Regions from separate parts of the Homo sapiens genome. Here region 1 is linked to region 2. The links are contacts of gene promoters, found by promoter capture Hi-C in blood cells and fetal thymus (Javierre and others, 2016). All regions are on one chromosome and are shown on one strand. The core of a region is centred on a gene start or on the middle of the fragment in contact, and the rest is flanking DNA. Distances in the headings are between cores, read along the strand shown.

The links. The method cuts DNA at HindIII sites, captures the fragments that hold promoters and counts their contacts. A CHiCAGO score of 5 or more calls a contact.
Region 1: a fragment that was not itself captured here is called in contact with the fragment with the promoter of LINC01888 in region 2 in 1 of 17 cell types (monocytes); the score reaches 7.9 in monocytes.

Annotation. Positions count from the first base shown.
Region 1 is chr2:68,285,402-68,288,458 of GRCh38, forward strand. The region is part of intron 1 of PPP3R1-AS1 (PPP3R1 and CNRIP1 antisense RNA 1); the gene reads left to right. It also overlaps a transcript of CNRIP1 not described here. Among named protein-coding and RNA genes, the nearest start is that of CNRIP1, 33 kb to the right of the region's middle. The HindIII fragment of the contact is 2,324 bases long and covers 487-2,810 here.
Region 2 is chr2:68,830,619-68,833,339 of GRCh38, forward strand. It overlaps LINC01888 (long intergenic non-protein coding RNA 1888), which reads left to right and starts at 1,390. Exons shown (of 2, transcript NR_183895.1): 1 at 1,390-1,534. It overlaps LINC01890 (long intergenic non-protein coding RNA 1890), which reads right to left. Exons shown (of 4, transcript NR_183884.1): 2 at 2,214-2,432; 3 at 742-887. The HindIII fragment of the contact is 9,437 bases long and covers 1-2,514 here.

The DNA.
Region 1 (3,057 bases), core at 399-2,898, 540 kb before region 2:
GGATTTTGCAGAGACAATGGTAAATGTGGATTAGGCTTTTGATCAGAAGGCAGAATATTCGTGACCAGCCTGGGCAACATGGTGAAACCCATCTCTACAAAAATTAGCTGGATGTGGTGGTGGCCGCCTGTGGTCCCAAATACTTGGGAGGCTGAGGTGAGAGGATCACTTGAGACTGGGAGGTTGAGGCTGCAGTGAGCCAACATCGCACCACTGCACTCCAGCATGGGCTGTTACAGAGCAAGACCCTGTCTCAAAAAAAAAAAAAAAAGAAAAGAAAAGAAAAGAAAAGAAAGAAAGGCAGAACCTTTAGGCAGCAGATGTCCACCAGAGGTATGTGTGCATGTGTGTGCATGTGCACGTGTGTGTACAGCCATATGGGTTTTAATACATGTATAGATTCATTCAACCACTGCCGCTATCAGGATACAGAACAGTTCCATCGCCCCAGAAAGCTCCCTCCTGCTACCTTTTTGAGTGTATCCAAGCTTTATTTTAAGGCTTTAATCTTATAAAAATCTCCAGGGAAAGGTGAAATGCTATAGAAAAGTTAAAGATAGTCTGTGTTCAATTATTTGAAGAAACTTGTCATTCAGGGTTAGATTGTTTCTATAGGGTGAGGACAAATTCCCATTACCTATATAGGTACTTACGTTGTCTTTTCAGGCAAATTTGGTTAGCTATCCCCTCCTACCCTGTCAAGCAGTAGCTATCTAGCCCACAATAAACTCTCTGAGTGGAAGCCTGATGATTTAAAGTTATGTCTACCATACCCATTATTTTTCGACTAACAATAGGAATCCAAAATCATTAGCTTGTAGCCATGAAAATTCTGAAAATAGACTCTCAGTGTGGCCATATGAGTTACATTTCAAAGTGTAACCATCTAGATTTGGGGAAATTAAGGACCTTACGAACACACACACACACACACACACACACACTCATATACACATTATATAGATCTACTTCACACCAAACACAAGCATAAAAAATAAACTGGGAAAAGATCAAGATTCCAACTGGGTTTTGAGTTGGAAAAAACATTAGTATTTTAAAATATATGTTTTGTCAAAGAAAGTGACTATCTGATAAAGGTAAAGGAAAAATCAGCTGTTTCAGTTTTGGGAAATTCACAATGCTCCTTTGTTTAGTGGGCTTGTTGAACTTTTCTGAACATTCAAAAAATATTTTTGTCAAATAATTTGGACATTTCAAATTCTGCTTCAAGCATGAAGGGAGGTTGCCACTAACACCATTGTTACCTCTTGGGCCACGGTCTCCCTTGGGATGGTCATTTCAGAGGGAGGAAATACCCTTGGCTGTCAGAGGCCAAGGGTCTATAAACTTCTAGATGAGGGTAAGCGTGTTGAAGTCATACTGATTTGGATTTTCATTCTGTCTCCTCTGCTCACAATAGCTATATGACCTTGGGCAGGTAGCCTAACCTCTCTGAGCTTAATAGCCTCATTTTAAAAATGGAAATCATATGTACTCTTCAGGATGATTTTGAAAATTAAATGAGATCATATATATAAAATGTCTGCCATACAAAAGATAGTCAATGAATGCTAATTTTGTCTTTCCTTTCCTCATTTAATTCATCTCTCTACCTCCAAATACAGCCTTATCAAAACTAGGTCAGTCATAATTTATCTTATTTTTTAAGACCATGGAAGGAAAAAAAGATGGTTTAATCCTTCTCCTAATCCATATTGTGACTTCTAACTTTCTCTGGCAGGAAATGATTTCTTAGAACCAACTTCAGACCATTACTTTTTTCTTTTTGGAGAAGTTTTACTTTACTGTCTTCAGCAGAAAAGGAGAGTAGGTGGTCTGGATTCCCCAGATGTGGATCAGGAAAGGCAAGGTTATGCTGAAGTAATGAACAACCCCAGAATCTTAGTGATGGTTTATAGAATAGTTTCTTGTTCATCTCTCCACCCCAAAAAAGCAGATTGATACAACATAAAGGACAGATAAGGGATAAAGCAAATATACCAAAATGTTAACTGTGAAATTCAGGTGATAGATATGGGAATGTGTGTTATGCAAGTCTTTCAACTTTTCTATACATTTCAACATTTTTCACGATAAAATATTGGGAGAAAAGTTTATTTCTCACTTATGCTATGGGTCCAACAAAAGGTGGCTAGGGTTCCATGCCGTATCTTCTCACTCCAGGACCTAAGGTGATCAATCATCTTGAAAGTGGCTATTTGCCATGGCAAAGGGAAAGAGAGTTCTGTTGGCATTGCACAGACTGTTGGATAATTTCAGCCTGAAATGACATGTGTCACTTCTGCTTACAACTCATTGGCCAGAGCTACCAGCACATGGCCTTAGCCCAGGCCATGGAGGTCAGATCCTATCATGTGCCTCGACGGGGGAGGGCTGGAAACATTTGGTAAGCAGCACAAGTAATTACCCTGATGAAAATAAACAACTTCATAAACTTCAAAGAATAACATACCTTAGGACTATCATTAATAATACGAACGTGACAAGGCAAATTCACTGGAAGCAATGTCAGTAAAAGAATTCAGAAACTTTTTTCTTTCTCATCCACTTTCCTTCTTTTAGTCTCCTTTAAAGGGAGCAGGAGAACTAACCCCGTAAAGGCTAACAGATTGCAAACTTCTTGCTGGCTGGTTTGCAGCCGGCCGGCCAGCCAGCCAGCCAGCCAGCCAGCTCTTTCTAGAATCTCATCACCTTTTTGTTGAGTCAGCTCATTTTCCCTGAGTCAGTAAGAAGATGTGGAAGCTGTCCAGAGATCTTAAGAAAAGCAGAAGTTAGGTTGAGGGTGGTAAAGCTTTTCAGAAATAGGATAATAAAATATCTGAGTAAACAATATTTCAATATTTTTCTTGACTCAACGTTTTAGAGGAGTCAGGAAAGACTTCATAGTGACATTTAAGCTGGCACTTGAAGGCGTTTGCAAGGTAGGAAATGGAGTAGGGCGTTCCAAGCAGAGGGAACAGGCTGTGCAGTGGCAAGGAAACTGCTTTGGACTTGGTAGATCTGCAGGAGAATAAGAAATTCACTGTGACCAGAGAC
Region 2 (2,721 bases), core at 140-2,639:
ATAGGCAAAGAAGATAAGCACTTGAGGGCCTGATTTAAAGAGTCCCGAGAATAGCTCTGATGAAAATCATCTCTTTTTCAGACTCATGTTAGATTGAGAAATCCCTACCAGTAGCCTTTGGAATATTAACCACAAACGTGATATTTCTGGGAGACTCCATGAAGCCTCCATTAATCGTTAGTATCATCTTTATATTAGTTATCTGCTTCCCAGCAGAAAGCTGTGTAATGAAGGAACGAGAGCCTGGCCAGATAAGCAGTGCTGTGGGTGGAGGAACAGATCAAGAGTATGGATGTTGGCCAGGCACAGTGGCTCACGCCTGTAATCCCAGCACTTTGGGAGGCCGAGGCGGGCAGATCACGAGGTCAGGAGTTCGACGCCAGTCTGGCCAACATAGTGAAACCCTGTCTCTACCAAAAATACAAAAAATTAGCCGGGTATGGTGGTGTGCGCCTGTAATCCCAGCTACTCTGGAGGCTGAGGCAGGAGAATCACGTGAACCTGAGAGGCGGAGGTTGCAGTGAGCCGAGATCTCGCCATTGCACTCCAACCTGGGTGACAGTGGGAGACTCTATCTCAAAAAAAAAAAAAAAGTATGGATGTTACCTAGGAGTATTGCAGTGTGGGCCCCTGGCTGCCTTAGGTGGGGTGAGGGTGCAAAAATCAGGCCTTAAAAAGGGAAACGGGGACTCATCATCAGGGTGGACGGAGAAATGGTTTGCCCCCACATACACCTGATACCTGCTCAAAGTTGGCACTTGTCCTCCTTCCTTCTCTCTGTTCTCCCTTATTGATGTCCTTTCAGTCCTGCTGAGGCCAGCCCATGCTAAACATCACCCTGGTTCTTGGGTCTTTGTTCAGCATCAGTAGCAATATCATGACAATAACTACCAATAATAAGCAACAAATACCATTTTAATACTTTCTGGTGAGCACTGTATCCATGTCATTTCCTTTAAATCTCAAATCAACTCTTTTCTGATTGCAATCAAACCTGTTTTACTGAGGTCTCAATGTGGCTTAGCTAGGAACTGAAGCGTATATACAGTCTACACAAGGCTACATTATCCTTGCCCTCACATAGGGAGGAAGTACAACATAGAAAATGACCCCTTGGCAGAGATGGACTAAAGCAAAATCTGCAAAGACTTTTTCTTTAAAAGGCTGGCAGGGATTCTGGAAAGAACCACTAACTGCCTTGTCTGACTCAGCATCAAGATGGAAAAATATACAGAGGCTGTTGCCTTCCCCACAGCCTAAGTCAAATCCACCTGCTTGCTCTGAGGCTGTCTGGGAGGCCACACATCACCATGCCCTTTCCTGGAGTCAATTCTTGGTCCCATGTCATTAGCCCCACCCTCGAAAGAACTCTGGGAATGGGGTTGCCTTGGAGTCCCCGGTTCCGTGTGGCTAAAGAGTGAGCCTCTCATATCTCCATGCTGAATTTCCTCACTCATTCACAACCCTCCTTTCCATTTCAAGAAATCTTTCTGTTCCCACAAGCCTGGGAGGGCCTTTGAGTGGGGCATATTGGGTAAGTTTGAAGGAGTACTGCCAGTGAGACCTTCAAAAGACTCTGTGTGAATGGGCTGGTGTTGGTGGGAGGAAACAGGGTCACAGATTCCCCTTCCCTTCCCCCTTGTAAGATGTGTCATCAGTTAAATATAGGCTCTGGCCCTGTGGACGTTTACAGGCTAAGACAGCCCGCCCTGACTGGGGCTCACAGCTTCTGAGAGGAGGACACTGGGATGTCTTCAGCCCATTTCACGTGGGCTGACTGTTTCCAAAACACTCCTGGTGGGTCAGCGAGCAGAGGAAGTGTTACCATGTGATCACTTTAGAAACACCCACCTAATGACGCACTAACACGGATTTGCCCTCTGTTTTTCACATTTGATCATTCCTGACACTTTGGCGAGGAAACAAAACCCTATTTCTCTTAGAAGTCACTCCTTCCCTGGATGTGAAAGAGGGCAGTGGTTTCCCTGTCAGTCCTCTTTTAGGGAAAGATCTGGGTGAGCACATGACCCAGCTCAGCTGGTCTGGGGCTGGACACAGACACAATTGTGAGAACTTGAACTGACTCACCAGGAAGCAGGTGGTTGGGACTAGGTACTGTTGTCTATTTCAGTGCTAGATATTGCCTTTAATGAAAAACTAGCCCCAATCAGAAAAAAGCCAACACCACGCTCTGCAATACTAAGTTGACTCACCTGTTGAAATGCTGTTTATTAAGCAAAACCAGTATCCTCAGAATTCCAGCTTTCACTTTCAAGTTTCTTATGTGGGATTTCATAGTATTGGGCCCAGTGATGTGTACATCAATGGTTTGGCTTGCTGTTTATGCTACTTATTTACTCGAGCAGTCACTCTGGTGTGTTCCCATGGCTTTTCTGAAAGTATTAGAATACAGCTCCCAAAGAATGTGAGTGCTATTGGAGAAATAAAATACATGGAAATCATATGGCATCCAGCAATTGCTATGCCTATCTTGAGATAGCTGATCCCTAGATAAGCTTGGTAGTTGTGTTACCAATGATGTCTTTTCTTAGTACACATAGATTGTACTCAAGGAATAGCAAAATGTTACAACACTGATTCTTCCTCCTATAGTTAATGGCATTTTAAAAGAGTTATGCTTGACTAAAGACATAGTTTTTAAAAATGCAAATATTGAGTGCTTTCAATTCCCTAAGCATGGTGTTTTCTGCTTTACCTGCA